Regions from separate parts of the Homo sapiens genome. Here regions 2 and 3 are each linked to region 1. Evidence: promoter capture Hi-C in human tissues and cell types (Jung and others, 2019). All regions are on one chromosome and are shown on one strand. Each heading gives the region's core, a stretch centred on a gene start or on the middle of the fragment in contact. The rest is flanking DNA. Distances are from core to core; before and after follow the strand shown. Region 1 holds the start of IRAK1BP1 (interleukin 1 receptor associated kinase 1 binding protein 1). Region 2 has its middle 56 kb from the start of HTR1B. Region 3 has its middle 65 kb from the start of LINC01621.

Evidence for each region. Contacts are between HindIII fragments. The study calls those that stand out against the background at their distance.
Region 2: a fragment that was not itself captured here is called in contact with the fragment with the promoter of IRAK1BP1 in region 1 in 1 of the 25 tissues and cell types used here (dorsolateral prefrontal cortex).
Region 3: a fragment that was not itself captured here is called in contact with the fragment with the promoter of IRAK1BP1 in region 1 in 1 of the 25 tissues and cell types used here (dorsolateral prefrontal cortex).

The regions. Positions count from the first base shown.
Region 1 is chr6:78,866,296-78,868,807 of GRCh38, forward strand. IRAK1BP1 (interleukin 1 receptor associated kinase 1 binding protein 1) reads left to right here and starts at 1,256. Exons shown (of 4, transcript NM_001010844.4): 1 at 1,256-1,596. The coding sequence starts at 1,282. It overlaps LOC107986613 (a long non-coding RNA gene), which reads right to left and starts at 1,195. Exons shown (of 2, transcript XR_001744210.2): 1 at 1,093-1,195. RefSeq lists enhancers at 1,151-1,260, 1,291-1,610, 1,443-2,043. The HindIII fragment of the contact is 12,955 bases long and covers 1-2,512 here.
Region 2 is chr6:77,517,910-77,520,421 of GRCh38, forward strand. No RefSeq gene overlaps it. Among named protein-coding and RNA genes, the nearest start is that of HTR1B, 56 kb to the left of the region's middle. The HindIII fragment of the contact is 3,192 bases long and covers 1-2,512 here.
Region 3 is chr6:79,876,122-79,878,633 of GRCh38, forward strand. No RefSeq gene overlaps it. Among named protein-coding and RNA genes, the nearest start is that of LINC01621, 65 kb to the left of the region's middle. The HindIII fragment of the contact is 7,172 bases long and covers 1-2,512 here.

The DNA.
Region 1 (2,512 bases), core at 6-2,505:
AGATGGATATACACAAAATTATGTTAATCTAGTGATGAGCCTAATTAAAGGAGGGGGGTACCATTGATTTAGTTGAATTATACTAATCGAAAAGAACAGAAAAAACGATGGTGAAGAAACTACAAGAGGACTGTCAGCTTTTCAGGGTCCTTTTAAAAGAACAGTTCTTGTCCTTCTAGAACTAGTTATTCAAAATTCTTTTTTCCCCCCTCGATTCTCTTGATAAAATTCAGATAGTAAAGACGTATAAGTCAGTGGGGCTATTTTTACAAAGATCATTGCTTAGTGCTAGGAAGAGAATCCAGAAGACGGGAAGTTGAGGGTTGTGTTCTAAAAGTTCTCTGAAGAAAAGGGTACAGAGAAGCTCCAAGTTGTGCAGGCCCAGCAAACTCCATGTTGGACGTGCTTTGCTACCACCTAAATCTCTTCTGTCGGAATTCAAGGCCCGAACCATTCCAGGGATTTTAGAAAAAAATGGGGAGACACAAAAATGATGCCAAAGCCATAGCTATCATTACAAACATCCATTATGTTCACTCTGCTTTCCATATGCAACGCACTCTACATACAATGGGCGCCTTATAAGCACATAGCAAATGTGAAAAATATTATCAACATTGCTTTGATAATATTAATATATTATATATATTAGAATATATTATATATTAGAATATATTATATATATTAGAATATATTATATATTACTAATATAAAAAATATTATCAACCCTGCTTTAGAGAAGATGATACTGAGATATGAAGAATCATAAACTGTCCAAGATCACAGGGGCAAAAAGTTCACCTCAACTGAAACCTCTCACGAACCACAAAAATGTGGCCGAGGGAGCCTCAAAAAGCAGTACCCCAAGCGGGGACGGTAAAGTCAGAAAAGACAAGGCTGGGGGTAATCACAGAGAAATCTAAAAACCCGCTCGGCCTCGCTACTCTTCTCCTTCCTCTGAGGTGCAGAGGCGCGGTGGGACGACAAGGAGTTGCGAGAAAGGGCAGAGCTCACTGAGGAGGCAACAGAGAAAGTCCGCTAACAATTTTTGAAGGCCGTAAGTTAAACATGTTAAAAACTGTAGCTACTCACTCAGCCGACATCTAGTAAAAAAGATGCGGCAAGATCAACAAGGCATATAGCTTGCGCCCGCCAGAAGTTCCGCGGCCTCCACACCCATCCCGGCATACTTTGCGCCGTGCACAGGCAAGCCCTGGTGCGCATTGGCCCCTTCGGCCGCCGTCGGCCGGTAGTTACTATGGAAACCCAGCTGCCATCGCTATGTCTCTGCAAAAGACCCCTCCGACCCGAGTGTTCGTGGAACTGGTTCCCTGGGCTGACCGGAGCCGGGAGAACAACCTGGCCTCAGGGAGAGAGACGCTACCGGGCTTACGCCACCCCCTCTCCTCAACACAAGCCCAAACTGCTACCCGCGAGGTGCAAGTAAGCGGCACCTCAGAAGTGTCTGCGGGCCCTGACCGGGCGCAGGTGGTGGTGCGAGTGAGCAGCACCAAGGAGGCGGCAGCCGAGGCCAAAAAGAGCGTTTGTCGCCGTCTAGATTACATCACGCAGAGCCTCCAGCAGCAGGGCGTGCAGGTGAGATCTCCGCGGGGGAGGAAATAAGAGCCGGAAGACACAAAAGGGTTGGCAGATGGTCGGGCCCCACAGGCCCCCCTAGCGGGAAGGGAGATGTGGAGGGTCTGGAGCGTTTAGGACGCGTTTGTTGCAAAGGTACTCCGGGACGCCAGGACCTGGCAGAGTGAATATTTGACCCATTCTTCTCCTAGACGAAGGTAATTATTGGCCTCAGGCAAATTAAAAATAAAAGAATGCAAATTGGGTAGGTTTTTATCTGGGGATATTTGCTTCAGTGATTTTGTTTTTAAATTTAAAGTGATGAAATGTTAAAACTTGAAATGTTAGTTGTAAATACTTGCCCACGTGGAGTGCTGGACACTAAATATTTTGTTTTGTTTTGTTTTTATTCCGCACCATGGAATTGGCAAGTGAAGAGCACGACCTGCTTCCTTCCGATCATGTAAAACTTTGCATGGAATGGTTCTTGAGTATGTTCCGCAAACAGTAACGTTGGGAAGTGGGGAAGAAGTTGCGTCCATTTTCATTTTATAATGATTTTCATTTTATAGTGATTCCCCCAAAATTTCTTCGGCCTTCTTAGGTTTAACTTAAAAGAAAAAATCAAGCCAGTATTGTGGATACCACATATACGAAATACTTCTACTTACTTAACGGAGATGTCCATGAGACAAATCACTAAACAAATCTTACCTTAAGCCTACTCCTAAGGCAAGAAAAAAAATGAAGCCATCATTTAATCCACACAATAGCACTGTTAGGCATGTTTTAATATCCCTGTTTTCCAAATTTAAAGAGGTTAAACAATGCTCTGAACTTTAGGTAGAGCAATATTTGAACTCATGTATTCCTGAAACCAGAATGTAAGTTGCTTCCAATTCTGCCGATAATTAGAATGAAAGAAAATTAGAAATCA
Region 2 (2,512 bases), core at 10-2,509, 1.3 Mb before region 1:
GTCTCCTATCAACAACTGCCTATGCAATCCTTCTCTCAGAATGTCCCCTGAGACTTAGAATTACCATGTCCCAATCCAATGAACTGATTATTTGCCCCCTACTCTCACCTTCCCCACCAACGCATCCTGCTTTTCTCTGTTAATAGCATCATCCATCCTCAGTTTATTCCAATAAGCTTGTACAAATATTTCTTAGGTGTTTATGTCCCAAGAACTGTTCTATGTACTTCATACAAAACCCTCAAGGCCCTTGGTCTAGAGGGATAAACAGAGAACAATTTATTTCAATAACATGACATGGATTCCCTGGCAAGATGGCCGAATAGGAACAGCTCCAGTCTGCAGCTCCCAGCGAGACCAATGCAGAAGGTGGGTGATTTCTGCATTTCCAACTGAGGTAACTGGTTCTTCTCACTGGGACTGGTTAGACAGTGGGTACAGACCACAGAGGGTGAGCAGAAGCAGGGTGGTGTGTCTCCTCACCCGGGAAGCACAAGGGGTCAGGGAACTCCTTCTCATAGCCAAGGGAAGCAGTGAGGGACTGTGCTGAAAGAGACAGTGCTATCTGGCCCAGATACTATGCTTTTCCCACTGTCTTCACAACCCACAGGCCAGGATATTCCCTTGGGTGCCTACATCACAATGGCCTTGGGTTTCAAGCAAAAACCTGGGCAGCTGTTTGGGCAGACACCGAGCTAGCTGCAGGAGTTTTTCTCATACCCCAGTGGCACCTGGAATGCCAGCAAGAGAGAACTATTCACTCCCCTGGAAAGGGGGCTGAAGCTAAGGAGACAAGTGGTCTTGTTCCATGGAGCCCACCCCTATGGAGCCCAGCAAGCTAACATCCACTGGCTTGAAATTCTCGCTGCCAGCGCAGCAGTCTGAAGTTAACCTGAAATGCTCAAGCTTGGTCGGGGGTTGTGGGGGTGTCTGCCATTATTGAGGCTTGAGTAGGCAGTTTTCCCCTCACAGTGTAAACAAAGCCACTTGGAAGTTTTGACTGAGCAGAGCCCACCACCACACCACAAAGTCATGGTAGCCGGACTGGCTCTCTAGATTCCTCCTTTCCGCGCAGGACATCTCTGAAAGAAAGGCAGCAGCCCCAGTCAGCAGCTTATAGACAAAACTTTCATCTCCCTGGGGATGAAAAAAGAGCACCTGGGGGAAGGGGCAGCTGTGGGTGCAGCTTCAGCAGACTTAAACGTTCCTGCCTGCCATCTCTGAAGAGAGCAGCAGATCTCCCAGCACAGTACTCGAGCTCAGCTAAGGGACAGACTGCCTCCTCAAGTTGGTCCCTGATCCCCGTACATCCTGACAGGAAAACACCTCCCAACAGGGGTCAACAATCACCTTATACAGGAAAGCTCTGGCTGGCATCTGGCAGGTGCCCCTCTGGGACAAAGCTTCCAGAGGAAGGAGCAAGCAGCAGTCTTTGCTGTTCTGCAGCCTTTGCTACAGCAGTAGCATCGACATCAACAAAAAGGAGACCATGCAAAAACTCCATCGAAAGGTCACCAACAGCAAAGACCAAAGGTAGATAAATCCATGAAGATGAGGAAAAACCAGCACAAAAAGGCTGAAAATTCCAGAAACCATAACACCTCTTCTCCTCCAAAGGATTATAAATCCTTACTGGCAAGGGAAGAAAACTGGATGGAGAATGAGTTTGATGAATTAACAGAAGTAGGCTTCAGAAAGTGGGTAATAACAGACTCCTCCGAGCAAAAGAGCATGCTCTAATCCAATGCAAGGAAGCTAAGAAACTTGATTAAAGGTTAGAGGAATTGCTAACTAGATTAACCAGTTTAGAGAAGAATATAAATGACCTGATGGAGCTGAAAAACTCAGCACAAGAACTTCATGAAGCATACACAAGTATCAATAGCCAAATCAATCAAGCAGAAGAAGAGCTATCAGAGACGGAAGATCAACTTAATGAAATAAAGTGTGAAGACAAGATTAGAGAAAAAAGAATGAAAGGAAACAAACAAAGCCTCCAAGAAATATGAGACTATGTAAAAAGACCAAACCTATGTTTGATTGATGTACCTCAAATTGATGGGGAGAATGGAACCAAGTTGGAAAACACACTTCAGGATATTATCCAGGAGAGCTTCCCTAACCTAGCAAGACAGGCCAACATTCAAATTCAGGAAATACAGAGAACACCACAAAGATACTCCTCGAGAAGAGCAACTCTAAGACACATAATCGTCAGATTCACCAAGGTTGAAATGAAGGAAAAAATGTTAAAGTCAACCAGAGAGAAGGGTCAGGTTACCCCCAAAGGGAAGCCCACCAGACTAACAGTGGATCTCTCTGCAGAAACCCTACAAGCCAGAAGAGAGTGGGGATCAATATTCAACATTCTTAAAGCAAAGAGTTTTCAACCCAGAATTCCATATCCAGCCAAACTAAACTTCATAAATGAAGGAGAAATAAAATCCTTTACAGACAAACAAATGCTGAGGATTTGGTCACCACCAGGCCTGCCTTAGAAGAGCTCTTGAAA
Region 3 (2,512 bases), core at 8-2,507, 1.0 Mb after region 1:
TCTTTTCTCTGCAAGCATTTCTGCACATATTGGTCACACAAATAAATGATTCATTTGCAGTTTTGATAGCTTTGATAGTTAAATACCTTTGAGGATACTACTTATACTAATAAAAACATTCTTATGGTGCACAATGGAAGCCTTATTAATAGGTGAGGAGGAGAGCCTTTTGGGTGTGGACAACTCTATTGCCAGCACAATCTAGAGTCAGGTCAAGGGGAAAGGATACAGAGTCAGGTCAAGAGGAAAGAATACAGAGGAGAGAAGAAAAAAGAAGAAAAAAAATCTTTGTTTTAGAAACTCATAGCCAGAAAAGGAAATCTGAAACAATGCTTTTTAATTCATACTTCCCTGGAAGAAAAGAAGACACTAAAATAACAGAGGAGCTAGCCTAGAGAGAGCACACAGGATAGGCATGCTATCTAAATTAACTCATTTAATCCTCACAAAAATGATCTAATGTCAGTACTATTATTTTGGAAATTTAGAAGCAGAGACAAATGGAGGTTAAAAATCCCCATCTCCAAAGGAGCATAACAGTATTTTTGCTACCTGGAAAGAAAGGCAATGGTTTTCCTATATATGTCAGGGAGTAACTGGGCTTCTTTTCCTTTGGATAGCAAAGAGCACTTAGACATCAGACACCTCCAGGATGGGCCCCTTTTGAGAGTAAGCTCTGAGGCACCATGCAGATCTCGGGGTCCAAAGCAGAGCACACAATCATCTGGAAAGACCTGGTGCTCATTGAGGAAGGAGGGAAAATGATATCACATCCCCGCCTTAGACATGGAAGAGTTGTGAAATGAGGGTAAAGGGACCATCCAGAAAAGAAGATAAGGAAGAAGCTAGGACACAGCCAGCCAATTCTGCCCACATGCCAGTGAAGTGGAGAAACTGATGCTGTTTATGCTTGTTGAGAGTTCCCATGGTTTTGCAGGAACCAACCCAATGTTTTCTGTGCTTTTTCACCTACTTTCTTATAGTCTATAAGAAAACCTACTACAAAAAACTCCTGCAGGAAGAAAAGAGTTTGTGTGTTTGCGTTGGAAACAGCAGGCTGGAAAAAAACTTGAGGAATTCCAAAGGACCCTAGGAAAAGGCATCCGAAAGGAAGCAACTTGTTGGTAGCTGGTAAAGGGGAGGTAAGGAGGCCTAAGAATGAAAGGAATAAATTATAAACCTGTTTTAAGAGTGAGAGTAGCTTAAGGCTTTAAGATTTATCTCCGGGGGGGAACTTGTTGCTTGACAGTAAGCAATTTCAGCATAATTAAAAGAAATCCTTTTTAGAGTTTATATTCCAGTCATACTAGGCGCAAGGCAAATTGTTAAATATGCTTCTACCCCTCATTTCAAACTTAGACATCCCCTTACCTTTCCACTGTAATAGACTTTCCAGGACTGTTTCAAAATTGAGGTACACACATATACACATGCATGTGCACACATGTATACACTAACATATTTGGACTATGCTATTTCAAACTCGTGGGAATGCCAGGTCACCAATTGTTTCTATTAGAATGGCCCTTGGTAATAAATGAATGACCCTGGTTCTCAGCCCAGTGTTAAATCTTAGTAAAAGATAATGAATAAGGACACAGTTTCCCCTAAGACCTTTATGCTTTTTGCATGATACTTGAACATTCTCATGCTCACATGTATAAAATCAATTTATTATTTAGCTAACTTTTGGTGGCAAGTGACAGAAAAGTTTGAAGTTAGGAAAGGGAATCATTGTATTACATAACTGGTATGGCCAGAGTGCAGTTGACTTCAGTCACAGTTTGATCCAAGACAATGTTAGCAAGATATTTTCTCTCTATTGCCATCTGACATGGTTTGAATGCTCCCTCCACATCTCATGTTGAAATTTAGTTGTCATTGTGATGGTATTAAGAGACGGGGCTGGGAGGCAGAGTAAGATGGTAGAATAGAAACCTGCAACATATGTACCCCCTGCAGGTATGCCAAATTTTCACAACTGTCTACACACAGAAAAGCACCATCACAAGAACCAAAAATCAGGTGAGCAATCACAGTACCTGGTTTTAACTTCATGTTGTTGACAGAGGCATTGAAAAGGGTTGAAGAGACAGCCTTGAGTTGCCGACATCATTCCTCCTCCAGCCCTGGCAGTGGCCGTGTAGCACAGAGTCTATGCACTTCGGAGAGAGAGAGAGTGCAGTGACTGGCGTACTTTACCCTGAACTCAGTGCTGACCTGTCATAGCAGAAAGCAAAGCCATGCTAGGTTCAGCCACTGACTGCACATGGAAGGTGCATTTGGAGCAGACCTAGTCAGAGGGGAATCACACATTCCATAAGTCAGAACTCAAATTTCTTGGCAAGCCTCACCACAGCAGGCCAGAGGGTTCTGGGGCTCTAGGTAAACTTGAAAGACAGTCTAGGACACAGGGACTGCAATTCCTAGGCAACTCCTAGTGCTGGGCTGGGCTTAGAGCCAGAGGACTGGGGTGGCATGTGACCTAGAGAGACACCAGCTGGAGTAGCTA